Regions from separate parts of the Homo sapiens genome. Here region 1 is linked to region 2. Evidence: promoter capture Hi-C in human tissues and cell types (Jung and others, 2019). All regions are on one chromosome and are shown on one strand. Each heading gives the region's core, a stretch centred on a gene start or on the middle of the fragment in contact. The rest is flanking DNA. Distances are from core to core; before and after follow the strand shown. Region 1 overlaps NDRG3 (NDRG family member 3). Region 2 holds the start of SLA2 (Src like adaptor 2).

Region 1 (5,509 bases), core at 252-2,751, 69 kb before region 2:
TGATCCGTCCGCCTCGGCCTCCCAAAGTGCTGGGATTACAGGCATGAGCCACCGCACCCACCTGAAAGTGAGGTAAATCTTACTGCAGTTTAAGTTTTCCTTTTCTACTAATCACAACATGTAAGCAGAGGAGGGAGGAGGGTGTTAGAACTAGAGGAGGGAGAACCCTGGGAACAACATTTTGTAACCTCCAGGACAACAGAGACAGCCAAAGCGTTTATGCCAAGGGCTTGCTCTGTTGCCCAGGCTGGAGTCCAGTGGCACAATCATGGCTTATTGCAGCCTCCTGGGCTCAAGTGATTCTCCTGCCTCAGCCTCCTGAGTAGCTCTTGCCACCATGCCTGGCTACGTTTTGTATTTTTTTAGAGACGGAGCTTTGCCATGTTGAAACTCTGGGGCTCAAGCCATCCACCCATCTCGGCCTCCCAAAGTGCTGGGATTACAGGCGTGAGCCACTGTGCCTGGCCCCAGGATCTTTTTTTTATTTGAGACAGGGTCTCTGTCATCCAGGTTAGAGTACAGTGGCATGGCCATGGCTTGCTGCAGTCTCTACCACCTGGGTTCAAGCAATTCCCACCTACTTGGGAGGCTACCTTAGCCTCCCAAGTAGTTGGGACCACAGGTGTGCCCACCATGCCTGGCCAATTTTTAAGTTATTTGTAGAGAAGAGGTCTCACTTTGTTGCCCACGCTGATCTCAAACTCCTGAGCTCAAGCAATCCTCCTGCCTCGGCCTCCCAAAGTGCTGGTATTATAGGCATGAGCTACCGCACCCAGCTCCAAGGTTGTTTAAAAAAAAAAAAAACCTAGGGGGAGAGAGAGAAAAGAAGAAACAGCTGTAATTAAAAATAGATTTATTGACATTTTCATCAAAGAATATTCATGAAGTGCTACATCTAGTGTGGACTAGAGTGGGTGTCCCTTAATGTACTAAGACATGATGGTTACATCTGTTGTCAGAAGTGCTCTAGACGGGACTGCAGCAAGAAATGGGTTCCGAAGCAGGTAGTGATGCCACCGTTACAGACCAGATGACCCTCAACCAGTTACAGGAGGCAAGAGATCCACATCTTAGCCACACCTTAGCAGAGTGCCCATGGGATTTTTAGAGTGGAAATTGTACTTTTTCAGCAATCTGCAGAGGATTATCTGATTGTAGATAGTTTTATCCAAGTATCCAACCTCTTTATAAATTTCTTTATGAAGTCTGTTTCTTAGTATATTTTGAAGGTAATGATTGCTATAGATACTTAAATATAATATATATATATATATATATATATATATATATATATATATATATATATACACACACACACACACACACACACAGATATAGGATTTTCATTCTTATCCCTGGATTATCAGTTTGAACAGATTTCTACTTGAAAACAATTTGCTGGGCCTGGCGCGGTGGCTCATGCCTGTAATCCCAGCACTTTGGGAAGCCAAGGCAGGCGGATCACCTGAGGTCGGGAGTTCGAGACCAGCCTTACCAACATGGAGAAACTCCGTCTCTACTAAAAATAAAAAATTAGCCGGGCGTGGTGGCACGTGCCTGTAGTCCCAGCTACTTGGGAGGCTGAGGCAGGAGAATGGCGTGAACCTGGGAGGTGGAGCTTACAATAAGCCGAGATTGCACCACTGCACTCCAGCCTGGGCGACAGAGCAAGACTCCGTCTCAAAAAAACAAACAAACAAAAAAAAACAAAATTAGCCAGGCATGATGGCACATGCCACAGCTACTCTGGAGGCTGAGGCAGGAGAATGGCTTGAACCCAGGAGGCGGAGGTTGCTCTGAGTCGAGATCGCGCTATTGCACTCCAGCCTGGGCAACAAGAGCGAAACTCTGTCTAAAAAAAAAAAAAAAAGAAGAAAATGATTTGCTGAAGATTTTTTTTTTTTTTTTTGAGTTGGAGTCTTGCTCTGTTGCCCAGGCTGGAGTGCAATGATGTGGTCTCGGCTCACTGCAACCTCTGCCTCCCCAGTTCAAGCAATTCTCCTGCCTCAGCCTCCCGAGTAGCTGGGATTATAGGTGCCCACCACCACGCCCTGCTAATTTTTGTATTTTTAGTAGAGATGGGGTTTCACCATCTTGGCCAGGCTGGTCTCTTGGCAGGCTGGTCTCGAACTCCTGATCTCATGATCCACCTGCCTCAGCCTCTCAGAGTGCTGGGATTACAGGCATGAGCCACCGCGCACGGCCCTGCTGATGATTTTAATACACCGATTTATTATACTAGTTGATTATATGAATCTTTATTATTAAAGAAAAACTGAGTATTTTCTGAGCATATGTAACTCTTCTTGCTTGTACAATCCCCCATCTTTGTTTCCACTTTTTGTAGGGAAGGATTATCTTTTTTGTGTATGGCTTTTTAATACAAAGTCATATTTTATTCTCTTTAACAGTTTTTTATCAGCTTATTTCTAAAAGCTTTTACTATTGCACCAACTCATTTTCTCCACTTTAGTCCCTAGCATGTCAATTACGTGTAACCTTTCCTCTTTGGTATTCGTTTCTTCCTCAAATCAAGTATCTCTATTTTGAGAGGTTCATAACCTCTACAAAATGATGTTTATTGCACTCATTAAGTGTCAGGACCAGGAATAGAATGGTGAATCAGAAATGGACCTTTCCTTTAAATTCACAGAACAGGTAAATTCACCCAAAATCTCTTTCTATTGATAGTTGGTCTAAGGTCTTATCTATCTCATCTTTCAACTATCTCATCTTTCTTTACATTATGTCTGTTGCTTCTGTCTTTTGAAACTATTGATGCCTTTTGACCAGATCTCATGTTAGGAAACTACATCTCTCTTCTCCCTAGCAATGACTTGTTTTTGAAACATTTCTGCTTTTCACACCCCCCTTTTTTTTCATAATTCACTTTAATCATTGACCCGTTCCTAGTTTCTTTTTGCTTATTCTCTAAGCTTGTAACTGTGAGGCTTGCTTGCTTTAATTTACCTTCTTGGGTTGCTTTATTTACCTTTTACATATGGCCACTAAGCTCCATCAGAAAACATTCCTCTTAGCTGGCTTCTACTTTGACTGCAACTTTCAGTAATAATTAATGGCTTTCCTTGATTTTTTTCCTCTTCAAATTATTCTGTTGTTTTAATTTTTTCCTTGAATCCCTTTCTGCTGCTTAAGTCTGCTTAGTGTAAGAATTTCTCTGAATATGGAATTAATGGCATCTTCAAAATGGACAGAAAAAAAGAAAGCACCCATAGCCTGAAATTTCTAGAAGTTTTGTTAGAGTGGAACCATATACTGTGAACATCAGAGACAAACAAACTGAGGCAGGAGGATTGCTTGAGCCCAGAGGTCAAGGCTGCACTGAGCTATGATCATGCCACTGCAACTCCAGCCTGGGTGACAAAGCAAGACTCTGTCTCAGAAGGAAAAAGAAACAGGGCAGGTGCAGTGGCTCACGCCTGTAATCTCAACACTTTGGGAGGCCAAGGTGGGCAGATTGCTTGAGCCCAGAAGTTGGAGACCACCCTGGGCAACATGGTGAAACCCTGTCCCTATTAAAACTACAAAAATGAGCCAGTTATGGTGGCGTGTGCCTGTAATCCCAGCTACTCTGGAGGCTGTGGCAGGAGAATCGATGGAACTTGGCAGGCGGAGGTTGCAGTGAATGGAGATTATGCCGCTGCACTCCAGCCTGGGCAGCAGATCAAGACTCCGTCTCAAAAAAAAAAAAAAAAAAAAAAAAAATATATATATATATATATATATATATATAGCCGGGCATGGTGGCACATGCCAGTAGTCCCAGCTACTCAAGTGGCTGAAGCAGGAGGATCGTTTGAGCCTGGGAGGTCAATGCTGCAGTGAGTTGTGATCATGCGACTGCATTCCAGGCTGGCTGACAGAGCGAGACCCTATCTCAGGAAAAAAAAAAAAAAAAAGAAAAAGAAAAAGAAACAAGTCTCTAGGGAAGGGCCCCAGAAGGTACTCAGCCTTTTAGAATGCCCCCAATGAGCAGTACTGAACTTTTAATGAGTACAGAGAATAAATAATATGGCCTCAGTTAATCACAGTTGAGTGAAGGACCAGCTAATGATCCCCATTCAGAAACTCTGGAGCCAGTTACTGTCAAATAGACCCAGTCATTCCCATTTTCCAGGGTGATTACTCATGAAGCTAGAAGCCATTCTTCAAGAGGGTCTGGGATCGCTCTCAAAAAAAAACAACAACAAAAAAAACAAAAAAACAACCAGGTGCGGTGGCTCACACCTGTAATCCCCTGTAATCCCAGCACTTTGGAGACCGAGGTGGGCAGATCACGAGGTCAGGAGATCGAGACCATCCTGGCTAACATGGTGAAACCCCGTCTCTACTAAAAATACAAAAAATTAGCCGGGCGCAGTGGCGGGTGCCTATAGTCCCAGCTGCTTGGGAGGCTGAGGCAGGAGAATGGCGTGAACCCAGGAGGCGGAGCTTGCAGTGAGCCAAGATCGTGCCACTGCAACTGCAGCCTGGGCGACAAAGCGAGACTCCGTCTCAAAAAAACAGCCAGGAAAACAAGTGCTAAATAGTCTTCACTCAGTTATTGGTACCTTTTATCTGGGAGTATAGCTAGGAACATGGGATTGAGAACACAGAGTTGTTTTTTGCTCGGTACTCAACAAATAAGACATAGCTTGAGGTTCTTGAGGGCATTGGCTTTCTGCTTTTGGCATGCCCCTTTGTGCTCATGTCAGGGACCGAGGGCTTTACAGAATGCCTCATGGTCATGGTCACATCATTGTAAGAAGGGAGAATTCATGGATACAATGACAGCTGCTTCCCAAAGAGCTCGTCAGAATTTGTGGCTCTATATTCTATGAGATTTTAATTCAATCTAGAGTGATTTTTTCTAATCTTAAAATAATCCCTAAAGGAACCTTTGGGAATTCTGTTAGATTGAAGCCCTAATATGGTCTGTTTAGGCATCATTATAAATCATTCCTTAAAAGGTTAGGTCAATCTTTACATTTTTGTATTTATTTATTTATTTATTTATTATTATTATTTTTTTTTTGAGACGGAGTCTCGCACTGTCGCCCAGGCTGGAGTGCAGTGGCGTGATCTCTGCTCACTGCAAGCTCCGCCTCCCGGGTTCACACCATTCTGCCTCAGCCTCGTGAGTAGCTGGGACTACAGGCGCCTGCCACCACGCCCGGCTATTTTTTTTTTTTTTTTTAGTAGAGATGGGGTTTCACCGTGTTACACAGGATGGTCTTGATCTCTTGACCTCGTGATCCACCCGCCCCGGACTCCCAAAGTGCTGGGATTATACGGGTGAGCCACCACGCCTGGCCCTTATTTATTTATTTTTTTGAGATGGAGTCTTGCTCTGTTGCCCAGGCTGGAGTGCAGTGGCGCCGTCTCAGCCCACTGCAACCTCTACCTCCCAGGTTCAAGTGATTCTCCTGCCTGAGCCTCCCAAGTAGATGGGACTACAGGCACGCTCCACCATGCCTGACTGACTTTTTTTTTTTTTTTTTGAGACGGA
Region 2 (5,255 bases), core at 544-3,043:
TCATAATGATGGCTTTGTCTTTCTAGTGACCAGTCCCCATCCAGGAGCCCACCAAGTGTTGCCTCATTAGAACAGAAAACACTTCTGTCACCGAGGAAATTAGAAGGGTTTTAGCAGCTCTGGCCAGGAGCCAGGGAGGAACACCAGTGCATATTTCTTAGTGGATAGACCTAGGATTTTAAATTTTGTAATTCTTAGGTGCCTCCCTAAGTAGAAAAGGAGAGTTATGCCGTGGGATTCTTTTAAGAAGAGACCAGAGATTCCCTACTTCCTGCCCCATTCATGAACTGCACCTTGAGGCTTGTTTTGAAGATGTGCGTATCATAAGAAGACGGGCATTACAGTTGTATGGCAGCAGGAGTGGGAAGGTGGGCTCAAGCTCAAGTCCCTCCCTGCCAAGGCCCACATCCCTGAGTGGCTGTCACCCATTCTAACGTCCTGATTAGAACTCTCTTGCAGAAGTGTGCCTCCACTCTGGCTCCTTCAGCTCTGTGTGCCAAGTGCCTACAAGGATAAAAATCAAACCAGCCTTCCCTAGGATCAAAGGAGAACCTGAGCAGGAGTGCTGTAGCTGGCAAGGCCCCAGAAAGGGCTGCATGGGCTGAGCTGGAGTCAGGAATCATTTCAGTGCAGTGGGCCCTTTGTCTCCAAGAGTACTAATCCCCCTAATGGGGAAGCAGCGAGAGGGTGTGGTTAAATCTTAATGAAGAGTGGGACTGAAGGTAACACACTGATCAAAGACAATTCAGCCAGAGTCAGATTCTTTATCCTAGACCAGTGATTCTCAAGCTTGGGCATGGACTGTGGCTCATGCTTGTAATCCCAACACTTAGGGAGGTGGAAGTGGGAGGAACAATTGAGGCCAGGAGTTTGAGATTAGATGGAGCAGCACAGTGAAACCTCATCTGTACAAAAAAAATTTAAAATTAGCCAGGAGTGCTGGTGCACACCTGTAGTCCTAGCTACTCAAGGCTGAGAAGGGAGGATTACTTGAGCCTGGGTCAAGGCTGCACTAAGCTATGATTGTGCCACTGCACTCTATCCTGGGTGACAAAGCAAGACCCTGTAAAAAAAAAAAAAAAAAAAAAAAAAAAAAAATCAAGCCTGGGCATGCATCGGAATCACCTGGAGGCATGAAAACAGATTGCTGGGCCTACCTCCAGAGTATGATTCCATAGATCTGGGATGCGGCCTGAGAATTTGCATGTCTAACAAATTCCCGCTGAGGCTGCTGGTCTAGGGACCATACTTGGAGACCACTGTCCAGATACTGCTGCTATTCAAAGTGTGGTCCCCAGACTGGCAACATGGGGGTCACCTGGGAGCGTATTAGAAATGCAAAATACTGAACTCTGCCCCAGACCTTCTGAATCAGAGCCTGCAGTGCAACAAGATCCCCAGGTGATTCCTATACACATTAAAGGCTGAGAAGGCAGTGCTTCCCACACTCGTCAGTCAAGGGAATCTCCTGCAGGGTTTAAAATTTAGATTCCTGGGCTCCCTATCTGGAGACTTGGATTTAGAAAGTTTGGGAGATCCCAGAAATTGCTACAATTAAGTCCCGCTGAGTGATTATTATGGTCAGGCCAGCATGGGAACTCCGGCTCATTTTCCTCAGTCCTGTGTTCCTTGGACAAGACTAAGCCACAAAGCCAGAGAAAAACCTTTTGCTCCACGATCATGACAAGGCAGCAGCTGCTCCCCTAGAAACAGGAACTTGGGGAAGGTGGCTCCTCGACGGTCTGTGATGCCGTCAGAGGAAACGGGTGGTTGTGAGAACCACAGAGTCTGCAGTCGGAGCTAGAGCTCCAAGGACCCCACGCCTGTGTCTCTGTGACAGAGCTCAAAGGGCCCTGGGCCTTCCCTCCCTGGCTCGGCTGTGCTTGGGAGGGTTCCCCAGTCCAGAATCCCTAAGGAGCATGGGGCAGCTGATCCATCCCTGGTGTACAAACTGCTGACTGCAGACAGATGCTGAGCTACCCAAACCAACACCTAGCCTCTCCCTGAAGATCCTCCCAGGCTGAGAGAGTTCTGGGTGTCCTAGGACCAAGGACACTGGCAGACTTCCAGAAGGGCCCCCAAAGCCCTAACCTGTCCAGCCAGAGCATGCGTCTCAGCAGAGCTGTCTTCCCAAGCCTTTGATGACAAACCAGTAAGTATGCTTGCTTTTGTTCTTGGATGGCCTGGAGACAGGTGAGGAAGAATGGTCTCCCCTGCCCCGACTGGGACTGGGCTTTATTTGCTGTTGGGAAAAAAACAAGCTCAAGGAGAAGGGGGAGTGGTTCTACTGAGGCTGTAAAGAGGGGTGGTTTCTGGGGGTCCCAGAAGAACCAAGACTCACCTGCTCCACCTTTGACCTCCTCTTGGAGCTTACGCTCTTCCGTGCAGCTTGTCTTCACGCCCGTCCTAGTCCCATCTCAGGTGCGCACTTGCTGTGTGACTTTGGGCCCCTCTCTGCGCTGCAGTCAGACTCCAAAGTCAGGAACGTGAGGGCTACCATCTCTCAAGACATTTCAGCTGTAGAGCCTACAGTGCACTCTCACTCTCAAAGGGGTGATATTTCTCAATTGGAAGAGAGGGAGAGGTCTCCCTTTAACTCAATCCAAATTCATTTTTTTTTTTGAGTTGGGGTCTCATTCTGTTACCCAGGCTGGAGTGCAGCGGCGTAATTATGACTAACTATAGACTTGAACCACTGGGCTCAAGTGATCCTCCTGCCTTAGCCTCCCAAGTAGCTGAGACTACAGGCATGTACCACCATGCCCAGCTAATTCGTTATATTTTTGTAGAGATGGCAGGCGGTGGTGGGGGTGGGGGTGGGGGTTCTCACTATGTTGCCCAGGCTGGTCTCGAACTCCTGGCCTCAAGCAATCCTCCTGTCTCAGCCTCCTAAATTGCTGGGATTACAGGCATGAGCCACTGTGCCTGGCCAAATTCATCACTCTTACCCCCACTGCTGAAAAATGATCTTCAGAAGCACAAAATACACATGATGGCAGGCCCAGTCCTGCACGAATGGGCTACATGAACAGAATCACATGGTTGTCCTCTCAGGGACTTGGTCACTGTATCTGAAATGGGACCCAAGTGAGATACTGAAAAAAAAAAAAAAAAAAAAAACACAATATTCTGGGCAGCGTGCTCATCTCGGCTGCCGTTGACTAACTTTTTCCTTTCACCCGATGCCTCATGTCCTCCGGAAAGTGCCTGGCACATAGTAAGTTTTTCAAAAATTTGTAGAGTTAATGATTTGATGCTGTCTTACAAAATGTGCGGCTAATACTCTGCCTCCTCCTAGGCTGGCCCATTGTATGGTCTTTATTTTGCCCCCAGGGGCTTATTGGCCTTGACCTGACCAAGTCCTTGACCAGGTGAAGGGAGCTGCAGAGACTTTGGGGAGGCTTTCAGCCTGAGTACAGCTCCCCTGTCTCCATCTGCCTTTGGGCCCAGCCCCCAGCTCCACCTGCGGCAGGAAGGAGTCTCTCAGTTTATTGCAGGTGGTAACTGTGGTCTTCCTGAAGGAGGGGAAAGGAAACTAAGCCTTACTGAGCACCCACTCTGTGCCAGACTCCTGCAACTCTCCCCACAGCCCCGTGGCGCCTGTAGTGCACCTTGTTCACAGATGAGACGGGGGAAGCTTGCATGCTTTGCCTGAGGCCACACAGCTCCAGCCAGGTTCAAGTGGGCACTCATGCTACCCAAGCCAGAGGTTCTCTCCCTGGGGTTTCCTGGTCTTGGGTTTGTAAAAATCCTCCCCAGGAGGATCGCTTAAGCCCAGGAGTTCAAGACCAGCCTGGGCAACACAGCAAGACCCCAATAATGTAAAACAAAAACAAAAAACCTCCTCAAGAACAGCAGCACCATTTCAGTGTACCCAGGCTGCAGGATCCTAAAAGGCTGAGCAGGAAGTGGCTGTCAGGACCCATTTCCATGCCATATGCCCATTCTGTGTTCAAGAGCTCCCTTCCAGATGAATGCCGAACTCCCCATACGGAGGGAGCAGCAAGCAGGTATTAGGTTTTTTGGGGCGGGAGGGGGGTACAGAGTCTCGCTCTGTCGCCCAGGCTGCAGTGCAGTGGCACAATCTCGGCTCACTGCAGCCCCTGCCTCCCAGGTTCAAGTGATTCTTTTGCCTCGGTCTCCCGAGTAGCTGGGATTACAGGTACCCACCACCACACCCGGCTCATTTTTGTATTTTTAGTAAAGACAGGGTTTCACCATGTTGGCCAGGCTGGTCTCAAACTCCTGACCTCATGTGATCTGCCCACCTCGGCCTCCCAAAGTGCTGGGATTACAGGCATGAGCCACCGCGCCCGGCCCAGGTATTGTTATTCCCATGTCAACAACATGAGACTGAAGAACAGAGAGGGCTGTTCCATGCTCTAAGGTAGGATCTTTACTCCCCAGACAGGACTGGTCCAGGACGCCACAGAAATCACTCCATGATATTGATGGACGCCCGTCCTCATCCAGGCAGTGTGGGGTTCAAAGGCAAGGAATGAGCCCACTCTGTCACCACCCCATTCAGTGATCTCCTCCAGAGTAAGGTGCATGGGTTCCCCTCCAGGGACCACCAGTCCTTGGCAGGTGCCTGACACAGAGCAGAAGCTCCATGAATATCAGCTGAACTGGGCCAATTGTGTAACTGTGCCTTGTCCCTACTGAAAAGAATGAAACCATCTGAAAAGAAAGACAAAGCTCCGCCTCCCACTCCCCAAACACTTTAAAATAGTGTTTGGAAAAATCAGCACTACCCTGGAAATCCGGGGATTTAAACTATTCTAACGATAAGACACCTACCTGTCTGAAGAGCTAACAGTCTCATTTAGTTAATGTGTGCTGAGTGCTTTCTGTGATGCCTCACTAAATGCTGAGTAATAGGCAAACAAAAGAAGTCTTTGTCCTCATGCAGTTACAGGATAGTGGCAGATTAAACAAGTAAACTCTCAAATGAATGATGAAAACTTCCCAAGGGAGGCTGGGTCCCATGGCTCACACCTGTAATCCCAGGATTTTGGGAAGCTGAGGTGGGAGGATTGGTGGAGCCCAGGAGTTCAAGAACAGCCTGGGCAACATGGCATGAGCCCGTAACTTAAGAAAAAAGGACCGGGTGCGGTGGCTCATGCCTGTAATCCCAGCACTTTGGCAGACCGAGGAGGGCGGATCGCCTGAGGTCGGGAGTTCAAGACCAGCCTGACCAATATGGGGAGACCCCATCTCTACTAAAAATACAAAATCGGCCAGGCGTGGTGGTG

The links. Contacts are between HindIII fragments. The study calls those that stand out against the background at their distance.
Region 1: a contact is called between a fragment that was not itself captured here and the fragment with the promoter of SLA2 in region 2, in 3 of the 25 tissues and cell types used here (IMR-90 fibroblasts, dorsolateral prefrontal cortex and heart left ventricle).

Annotation. Positions count from the first base shown.
Region 1 is chr20:36,710,805-36,716,313 of GRCh38, reverse strand. All of the region lies in intron 2 of NDRG3 (NDRG family member 3), which reads left to right. Among named protein-coding and RNA genes, the nearest start is that of NDRG3, 33 kb to the left of the region's middle. The HindIII fragment of the contact is 6,918 bases long and covers 1-4,960 here.
Region 2 is chr20:36,642,734-36,647,988 of GRCh38, reverse strand. It overlaps SLA2 (Src like adaptor 2), which reads left to right and starts at 1,793. Exons shown (of 8, transcript NM_032214.4): 1 at 1,793-2,152. RefSeq lists an enhancer at 4,490-5,160. The HindIII fragment of the contact is 4,817 bases long and covers 351-5,167 here.